Regions from separate parts of the Homo sapiens genome. Here region 1 is linked to region 2. Evidence: promoter capture Hi-C in human tissues and cell types (Jung and others, 2019). All regions are on one chromosome and are shown on one strand. Each heading gives the region's core, a stretch centred on a gene start or on the middle of the fragment in contact. The rest is flanking DNA. Distances are from core to core; before and after follow the strand shown. Region 1 has its middle 12 kb from the start of CENPA. Region 2 holds the start of MPV17 (mitochondrial inner membrane protein MPV17).

The links. Contacts are between HindIII fragments. The study calls those that stand out against the background at their distance.
Region 1: a contact is called between a fragment that was not itself captured here and the fragment with the promoter of MPV17 in region 2, in 1 of the 25 tissues and cell types used here (hippocampus).

The regions. Positions count from the first base shown.
Region 1 is chr2:26,795,168-26,800,313 of GRCh38, forward strand. No RefSeq gene overlaps it. Among named protein-coding and RNA genes, the nearest start is that of CENPA, 12 kb to the left of the region's middle. The HindIII fragment of the contact is 9,087 bases long and covers 1-5,146 here.
Region 2 is chr2:27,319,335-27,324,510 of GRCh38, forward strand. It overlaps MPV17 (mitochondrial inner membrane protein MPV17), which reads right to left and starts at 3,763. Exons shown (of 8, transcript NM_002437.5): 1 at 3,718-3,763; 2 at 3,114-3,188. The coding sequence starts at 3,183. RefSeq lists enhancers at 3,158-3,207, 3,218-3,307, 3,318-3,367, 3,418-3,477, 3,600-4,572 and 3 more. The HindIII fragment of the contact is 20,851 bases long and covers 3,458-5,176 here.

The sequences.
Region 1 (5,146 bases), core at 1,413-3,912, 530 kb before region 2:
ACAAAACCGCCATTGTCATCATGGCCCGTTCTCAGTGAGCTGTTGGGTACACCTCCCAGATGGGGTGGTGGCTGGGCAGAGGGGCTCCTCACTTCCCAGAAGGGGTGGCCGGGCAGGGGCGCCCCTCACCTCCCGGACGGGGCGGCTGGCCGGGCGGGGGGCTGACCCCTCCTCCTCCCTCCCGGAGGGGGCGGCTGGCCGGGCAGAGGGGCTCCTCACTTCCCAGTAGGGGCGGCCGGGCAGAGGCACCCCTCACCTCCCGGACGGGGCGAACAGCCACAATTTAAACAAGATAATTAAGGGAGGTGGTTTTGCCTCTGGTGGAGTAGAGTATGACTAGATGAAAACCTTGCCCTTCTGTTGTAACTGAAAGCAATTTAAAAGATTTCCAGAGACATGGGAAGTGTCACCCAAAGATATGAGATCTGTATGTGATGAAAATGATTAGTGAGGGCAGACTACTAATAATGATGTGTCAGTCAACTGAGTTCAGAGACAGATTAAAGAGATGCACCAAGTTCTATTGTTTAATAATTTTTTTTTTCCCGAGACTCTGTCTGTCGCCCAGGCTGGAGTGCAGTAGTGCCATCTCAGCTCACTGCAAGCTCCGCCTCCTGGGTTCAAATGATTCTCCTGTCTCAGCCTCCCTAGTAGCTGGGATTACAGGCATCCACCATCATGCCTGGCTAATTTTTGTATTTTTGTAGAGACAGGGTTTCACCATGTTGGCCAGGCTGGTCTTGAACTCCTGACCTCAAGTGATCTGTGGGCCTCAGCCTCCCAAAGTGTTGGGATTACAGGCGTGAGCCACTGTGCCTGGCTGGGTTTTTGTTTTATGTATTTTTTTATTATTATTTTTTTAATTTTTAATTTAATTTTATTTTTTGTAGGGGCAAGGCTTTGCCGTGTTGCCTAAGCTGGTTTCGAACTCCTGAACTCAAGCAATCTGCTTGACTCAGTCTCCCAGAGTGCTGGGATTACAGGTGTGAGCCACCAGGCCTGGCCATATTTATTTTTGAGAGAAAGGGGGGTCTCGCTCTGTCACCCAGGCTGGAATGCAGTGGAGCAATCATAGCTCGTTGCAGCCTCAAACTCCTGGGCTCAAGCAATCCTCCCACCTCGCCCTCCCAAGTATCTTGAACTATAGATGCTCGCCACCACGCCCCTGTTTTATTTTTTTATTTTGTTTTTCCCTACTTTCAGGGTGATTTCATCAACATTCTTTTCTAACCTTTCAATTGAATTTTTTATTTCTGATTTCATGTTTTTAATATCCAATTAACTCCTTATTTTGGTAATGTTTCTTTTTTATAGTATTCCAATCAGTCAGCATTCACTTAAAAAAAAAAAACAGAAATAACTCCAGATATTTTAAGCAAAAAGGGATTTGGTGGAAGGGGTTGACTATAGTAATGTCAGGAAGGCTGGTTGAGCCAAAGAGAAGAGGATGCTGCCCAAAGATCAGGAAGCTCCCAGTGCCCACCCCCACTGCTGCTCTGCTGGAAGCATAGCCCTGCCACCATTGCATTGAACTGTACCACTGCCGCTGAGCAAAGTCAGGATCCCCAACTCTGACCATTGTATCATGCCCGGCTGGCTCTGCAATGTCATTTTGATGTGTCTTCAGTATGGATTTTTTTTTTTTTTTTTCTGAGTCAGAGTCTCGCTCTGTCACCGAGGCTGGAGTGCAGTGGTGCGATCTCCAACTTTTTCAGTTTTCTTTGATAGGAGAGTGGTCCCAATGACCTTTTCTACCATTACTGGAAGTTGAAGTTTGATGTGTCTCTTGATATTCCCATACTCATCATTACTTATTGCCATTAAAATAAAACAAAAATAACTTAAATGTATTCAACATCAAACATAACACATGCTGTCATATATAACAATCAAGACTCTCATTTGCAAGTTTGGGGACCCCAACTCAAACTGACTTAAGAGGAGAAGGTTCATATAACTGAAAAGCCCAGAGACATTTCTGGTTTCGCTACAGTCAAATCGAAGGGCTGTAACAAAGTCATGAGATTTGGTCTCTCTCTTCACCCTTTGCTGCTTCTGTTAGTGTCACTTTCAGGCAGGCCTTCAGAACCTGTAAATTTGGCATGTCACATGGCAAAGGGGAATTAAGAGTGCTAATCAGCTGACATTAAAATAGGGAGATTTAGAAGAAAAAAAGGACAAAGCAAAAAATGGGGAGAGTACCTTGGAATTTTGGGTGGGCCCAATGTAATCACAAGTGCCATTAAAAATGGAAGAGTGAGAGAGAAGTGTGTTAGAGATAGGAGTAGGAGAATGGTCAGGCAGATGCAACATTGCTGGCATTGAAGATGGAGGGAGAGATCACAGACTGACGAGTCTAGGTGGCTTCTAGCAGCGAAGAGGCAAGGAAGCGGATTTTCTTTTAGAAACTCCAGAGAAGAAAACAGGCCTGCCGATACCTTGATTTTTAGCCCAGCGAAACTTGTGTCAGACTTCTAAACTACAGAACTGTAAGAATAAATTTGTGTTTTATCTAAGCCACTGAGTTGTTGCTAATTTGTTACAGCAGCAATAGGAAACTAATACAAGTGGTTTCCCAAGGAAATTTGAGGCTTCTTAACAGGTAAGAGAGAATGTAGACAGGGCAGACAAAAATAACAGATGTCTACTATACCACATGTGGTGTTATGATAGACATTGGTTTTCGTCCACAGTTCCGGGCTCATAACTGCTATAGCCGTTGTTAGTTCTTTTGTTGTAATATTGGGTATGTGTTAGGCCTCAGGAAACAGAATCTCTCCTTCTCCTGCCCTCCTTTCACCTGCCCCAAGACAGGCCTCTAATCTTTCTCAGGCTTTCAGATTGTGGGTCTTAAGATCCTACCCAGAGAGGTTCCCTCTATACCCTGGGGGAAAGAATGCGGAGGTCCTGAAGCTTCCATAAAAACCCTTGAGGACGGTTCAGGGAGGTTCCCGATACCTGAACTCGGGGAGGTTCCTGGAGGGTGGCGCCCCCCACACCCCCCACCCCCCACGGAGGGCTTAGAAGCTCTGTGTGCATTCCCCATACCTCACCCCACGTGTCTCTTCATCTGTTTCCTTTTTTTATGTTTTTCATGCATTTTTTTTATTTTTTATTTTTCATTTTTTTTTTTTTTAGACAGAGTCTCACTCTGTCACCCAGGCTGGAGTGCAGTGGCGCGATCTTGGCTCACTGCAACCTCCGCCTCCCAGGTTCAAGCAATTCTCCTGCCTCAGCCTCCCAAGTAGCTGGGATTATAGGCGTGGGCCACTACACCCGGCTAATTTTTGTATTTTTAGTAGAGGCGGGGTTTCGCCATGTTGGCCAGGCTGGTCTTGAACTCCTGACCTCAGGTAATCCGCCTCAGCCTCCCAAAGTGCTGGGATTACAGGTGTGAGCCACCGCGCCCAGCCATCTGTATCCTTTGTAATATTTTTTGTAACAAACTGGTAAATGTGTTTCCCTGAGCTCTGTGAGCCACTCCACCAAATTAATCAAAGAGGGGGTCATGGGAACCCCAACTTGAAGCCAGTCCTAGAGGCCCAGACTTGTGACCGGTTTTGGTGGGTGGGCAGTCTTGGGGACTGAACCCTCAACGTGTGGGATCTGATGCCATCTCTGGGTAGACAGTGTCAGAAATGAATTAGAGGACACCCAGCTGGTGTCCACTGCTTGGTGTATGGGGAAATCACCTCCAACGTTTGGTCACAGAAATCTTCTGCATGGATGATTGTTGTGCTGTGAGAGTGAGGAAAAACATGGTTAGAGTTCTCCCTACATACCATATGACGCACTGTGTCACAATTACAAATTTTTAAAAGCCAGATGGCACCTACTTTTTTTTTTTTTTTTTGCCATTACTTTCAATGGCAACAACCGCAATTACTTTTGCACCAACCTAGTAATATACTTTGAGCAGCATTAGAGTTTTATTCTATTTTATATTCTTTGGATTTATTTTAATGCTGTTTACAGGAACTGAAAAGCTCCATTCTTTTTAAAAGATTTTCTAATTAAAGTATAACATACATACCAAAAACACAAATGTATACAGATTACAATTTTACAGCTCAATTAGTTTTCACAAACTGAAATCAATGCATCTCAGAATCCTGCCCCGTTCTAGTCAATACTTACTCTGCCAAGGATAATTGTTATCCTGTTGTTTTTTTATATAGACGGAGCTTTGCTCTTGTCGCCCAGGCTGGGTGGGGTGTGTGGCCCAGGCTGGGGTGCAGTGGCGCAATCTCGGCTCACTGCAACCTCTGCCTCCCGGGTTCAAGTGATTCTCCTGCCTCAGCCTCCTGAGTAGCCGAGATTACAGGCACCCACCACCACGTCTGGCTAATTTTTGTATTTTTAGTAGAGACGGGGTTTCACCATGTTGGCCAGGCTGGTCTCAAACTCCTGACCTCAGGTAATCTACCTGGTTCGGCCTCCCAAAGAGCTGGGATTACAGGCGTGAGCCACCACGCCCGGCCTATCCTGACTTTTAATACCATAGATTCATTTTGATTATTGTAGTAAGTGGAATTATAGAGCATATATTCTTTTGTGTTTTTCAGTCAACATGTTTGTGAAATTTATATTTTCTCATGTGTTTATGGTGTTAATTCTTACTGCTGCATAGGGTTTCATTGTGTGGATATGCCTAAATTTTTTTTTTTTTTTTTTAGTGAAAGCAAGTTTATTAAGAAAGTGAAAGAATAAAGCATAGCTACTCTGTAGGCAGAGCGGCCTATGCCTAAATTTGTATATTTCCATTCTATTGAACATTTGGATAGTTTCAAGTTTGGGGGTTACAAATATTGGCTACTGACTTTTGCCTCAAAAACAAAAAAAAAAGAGACTTGGAGATGCATTTTTTTGGGGGGTTTGTTTGTTTGAGACAGGATCTTACTCTGTCACCCACGCTAGAGGGCATTGGTGTGATCACAGTTCACTGCATCCTCGACCTCCCCAGGCTCAGGTGATCTTCCCACCTCAGCTTCCCGAGTAGCTGGGAATATAGGAGCACACCACCACACCTGGCTAATTTTTTTTTTTTTTTTTTTTTTTAGACAGAGTCTCACTCTGTCACCAGGCTGGAGTGCAGTGGCGCGATCTTGGCTCACTGCAACCTCCGCCTCTTAGGTTCAAGCAATTC
Region 2 (5,176 bases), core at 2,513-5,012:
ATATGGCAAAACCCCATCTCTACCAAAAAACAAAAGAAATTAGCTGGGCATGGTGGTGCAAGCCCGCGGTCCCAACCACTCGGGAGGCTAAGGCAGAGGATCCTCTGTTGCCCAGGCTGGAGTGCAGTGGCATAGTCACAGTTCAGGATGGGATCATGCCACTGCACTCCAGCCTGGGCAAAAGAGCAAGACCCCGTCTCAAATAATAATAATAATAAAATAGTTTATTGTGCCTGTGTTGCCAACACTCATAGAAAGAACCAACCTGTTGAGTCTTTAAGTTCACTGAGCATTTAAAAACATTTCCAGGTGGGGCCTACTGGATCACACCTGTAATCCTAGTACTCTGGGAGGCTGAGGTGGGCGGATCACTTGAGGTCAGGAGTTCAAGACTAGCCTGGCCAACATGGAGAAAGCCCATCTCTACTAAAAATACAAAAAAGTAGCCTGGTGTGGTGCTGTGCACTTGTAGTCCCAGCTACTCAGGAGGCTGACGCATGATAATTGCTTGAACCCAGGAGGCGGAGGTTGCAGTGAGCTGATATAGCACCACCACTCTCCAGCCTGGGTAACAGGGTGACACCTTATCTCAAAAAAAAAAAAAAAAGAAAAAGAAAAAAAGGCTGAGCTCAGTGGCTCACACCTGTAACCCCAGCACTTTAGGAGGCCGAGGCGGGTGAATCACGAGGTCAAGTGTCCGAGACCAGCCTGGCCAACATGGTGAAATCCCGTCTCTACTAAAAATAGAAAAAATTAGCTGGGCGTGGTGGCGCATGCCTATAATCCCAGCTGCTGAAGAGGCTGAGGCAGGAGAATCACTTGAACCCGGGAGGCGGAGGTTGCAGTGAGTCGAGATCACGCCACCGCACTCCAGCCCGGGCAACAGTGCAAGACTCCATCTCGAAGAAAAAAAAAAAGAAAAAAAATGTCCAAAACCTTTTCACAGTGATACTCCTATACTGACCCTGTGAGGTCATATAACTAAACTCAAGATTTTTTTTTTGTTGATTTTTTTTTTTGAGATGGAGTTTCGCTCTTGTTGCCCAGGCTGGAGTGCAATGGCACAATCTTGGCTCACCGCAACCTCTGCCTCATGGGTTCAAGTGATTCTCCTGCCTCAGCCTCCCAAGTAGCTGGGATTACAGGCATGCGCCACCATACCCGGCTAATTTTGTATTTTTAGTAGAGACGGGGTTTCACCGTGTTAGCCAGGTTGGTCTCGATCTCCTGACCTCGTGATCTGCCCACCTCGGCGTCCCAAAGTGCTGGGATTACAGGTGTGAGCCACCGCGCCCAGTCCCTAAACTCAAGTTTTAAAAGAGGAAACTAAGGCTCAAAGAAGCTTACTGACTTGTCCTGATTAATGCACCTACTAGGTGCTATGGTTTTAAGATTCAAATCCTGGTCTTCTAAGTCTGAAATCTCTGTACTGTTTTCCAGTGTGATGAGCTATCCCATGGGACCTTAGGAACTACTGTGCTGGGGTCCAAAAATGGCTCAGTGAACTAAAGCCACTTCCACCTTTTATTTGTAGTTTGATCCAAATACAGTGAACAGCAGGAAAGGAAAAGTCTGGATGGTCTGAAAAAGTCTGGGAAAAGTGCTGGGAGGCTACATTTTGCTTCAGGGCTGAGCTGGGACGTCAGCATAGCCTCAGGAAGACTGAGGCTGTGGAGCTGAAGGGCTCCAGCACCAAGAGCCCAGAACTCCAGCCACATGTCGGCACCTAGGCCTCCTTGGAGCTCTAGCTCCTGCCCTTGTCAGCTGCAGATGCCTCAGGTAGGGAAATATAAGGACTCTTTCCCTCCCTATTCTTGATGACCACAAGGGGGAATCTTCCATCTGGCAGTTATGGGCCCTGAGGGAATCTGAGCCTGGGCAAAGGGCCCAGCGTGTCAGTTCCCATCATAGCCACACTGTCCAGCATGAGTCACCACACACGTAGCCAGGTGAGTCATACAGGCTGACGGACGCTGAGGACAGGACAAGAGGTGGTTGGGCACCGGAGACTGGAGAGGGGCCCAGGGAAGGGCCAAAGAATCCATCTCCTGGCCATTCATGCAGTTAAGTTTCTGTGCCGATGCAGGGCTGTTCTGGTCACAGGATCCCTGTTCCACTCTGGCCTTCAGTAGCCCCCAATCCCTTCCAATAGTCCTCTTCTCAGAAGGCCAGTCATCACTAGAATCCTGTTCCCCTTCTCTAAACATGGGCAAGACCTCATCTTAATGTGATCACTCTTTGCACCCCAATGTTCTAAGGCCTTCTGACATTCCCCCTCTAAGACTTACTTATCTTCATGCCATCCTCTTACATTAGCTAACTTGCAAAATGAAGATGGTAACAAATGCAGGTAGGTCACTGCATTACCTCTGTGAGGTTAGTACTCAATCACTGCATTTGGAGTGACTGGTATCTGATCACTCCAAATGGATCAGGATGGAGTGATCAGATACCAATATACTAACCTTGGAGATACATATTTAGGCAGTAAATGATAACAAAAGCAAATGAACGATATAAACAAAACTCAGGAAATTTTGGGTGAATTACGGAGAGGCACTCAAGAGGTCTCAAAGCTGATTACTGACACAGGAGTGTTCAGTTTTAATGCCATTTAAACTGTACATACACATCTTAATCATTCTTTTGTATGTTTCACAATAAAAAATACCAAGAAAAACTGGGGTAAGAGTCTTGATTCAGCACTTATTAGGTGTGATCTAATGTGGACTCAAGTAACCCTCCTAGCTCACACACCTTTGTGGGGGCCCTATGCCATAACGTATATGAAAGTGCTTTGCATACGGTAAAATGTTTTCCAAGTTGAGGCCTCCTGGGGCAATGCCTTTATCCTTCAGGGCTGACTGTTCAGCTTTTTGAGGACTTTGAAATCCTAAAACCCTACTGCACAGCTTGGCCAACTACGCATACCCCTTAAAAACAGCCTTGGGGACCACCCTCCAAAACAGACTGGGGACAGTGTAGGATGAAAGACAGCCAACCCTTCAAGAGAGCCGAATAGAAACAGGAAGTGAGGGTGGTGCAGTGGGGCAAGCCTCTGGCTTCCAAATCAGTCTGCCCTGGTCCCACTCAAGTCCTAGAGGGACACTCACCAGCTGTCAGGACCTGTACTTTCCACGGGTGAGCGGCCAGGGCCCGCTGGTATGCCCGCCAGAGTGCCATGCTTCCTGTCAAGCCAAGAGGAGAGGGGGTCACCCCCACCGTCCCTCTCCACGACTAAGAAGCCGCCTGACATTCCCTTGTGCCCACTCCCTTCCCCTTCCCACTTCCAATGTGACTTAAAGGGGCAGAGGCCACATGAAGGATGCTTCCCAGACAGCTTCCTGTCGCAGGAGTCGCCTTAGACAATTGGGGAAGAGAGAAAGGCTGTGGGAAGCTATGGACTCCTGGTAGCAGCCACCAGCCACCCCAACCTCATTCCTGAAGCCAGACCACCTGGAAGCCTCCGTTCCCGACGGAGACACTCATGAGGACAGCTTTGCTCTGGCTTCTACCCAGAGCTTGGGTGCCTCAAAAGATAGCTTGGTCCGTCTCCAGATTCAGACTTGGTTGGAACCAGTTTGTAACCTTCCTGAGTCCAGCTCCAAACCGAAAATAGGGCCCGTCACTGCCCGGATATAGGATGACCACACACCTTGTGGGCACTCATGGCTTGCGACGCTTTAAGCCAGAGACCGCAGATCACCCGCCACTCACCTGAGCGCCGAGCCTCCCTCCCACGTGACAGGCTGGCCTAGGAACTTCCGCCACAAGTCCCGCCCCTTCCTCCCAGCGTCCTTCGGATTACGCAGCCAGGACAGGAATGGGGGTGGACCGAGCCATGAATACCCGTGGAGAGCGGCCTAACTCGGCCACCCACTCTGTGAGAGACCCCTTTTCCAGCTGGACTGTGCCGGACCCTGGTGTGGGGCCCGCCAGCCATATTTCTCACCTAAGTTCGACCCTCTGCCTCCTCCTGCCCCTTCTCTCCGCGCGAGACCCGGGCCTCTCTCAATCCGGTAGTCTCATTGTTCAGCCCACCCTCCCCGCATAACTGGCCATAACTACGATCCTTGTCTCAGCAATCGTAGTTAGGGAACTATAAGTTATAGTTAAGTGCGTGTTTTGTCTCTAGGTTCTTCACTGGCCTCAACTGTGAGCTCATGAGTGGGTAAAACTGGGGTCGTTCATATTTGTCGTCCTCATAGCAACTATTTCAGTGCTTTGCCGCAAACAGCCACTTAAGAAATACTGCGTATGTATGATTCTTCCACAGAAAGCATTGGAATTAGAACCTCAGAAGACATTAGGTATTGGCTCCCAAACTAACGGGCTGTGCAGCCTTGGTCATGACTAGACTTGATGTTAAGGCTCTGCATCTGTAAAATGAGGGAGGTTACACTATTGACTTTCCAAACTCGGCTCCTCAGTTCTAGGGATTTTTCAGATGTTTGTGTGTGGGGATGAGAGGGGCAGCATTACTACAGCTGCTTCTCCAACTTTTTTTTCCAAGTATATACTTCTCAAAAGACCCATTTTTAACGGGGCCCACAACTGCATGTTTGAAAACCAGTAAGCTAGGTGATTTCTTAATCCCCTTCCAGCTCTAACATTCTAAGAGTCTGTGAATATAGAGCAATATCCTTTCTAGAGCGTTGGAAATGTCTACAATATCCCTGGCAATGGACTTGTCAGGCTGGCAGGCTTTACTTATCTCCAGGGAGCCCACACGTCAGGAGGCACACTCTTTCAGGCTCTCCACCTGCCCAGCTCCACCCCCAATTTACTCAATTCCTTTATGATTAAGGCAGGGAGACTCCTGCCACAAATCCTGGAGAAACAGAGTAAGGAAGCAAGAGAAGTCAATGTCACAAACATTTAACTAAAATGCTATTTGCAAAACAGCATGCTAGAGGAGTGAACTGACAAAAGTAAATGTAATAGGAGACCAAATGTGGTAGGCTGTAAAGTTATATTCTGAAGTTAGACTGAGTTCAAATCCCCAGCACCACCACTTACTAGTTATATGACCTTGACCTTTTACAGACAGCTTACCCTCTCCAACTCTTTTATCATTAAGTAAAATGGCAATACCTACCTCATACAAGTGACACATGCGAAGTGCCTAAAATGGATCAAGTGCTTAATGCTTGTTTATCCTTTTTCCTCCCTTCCC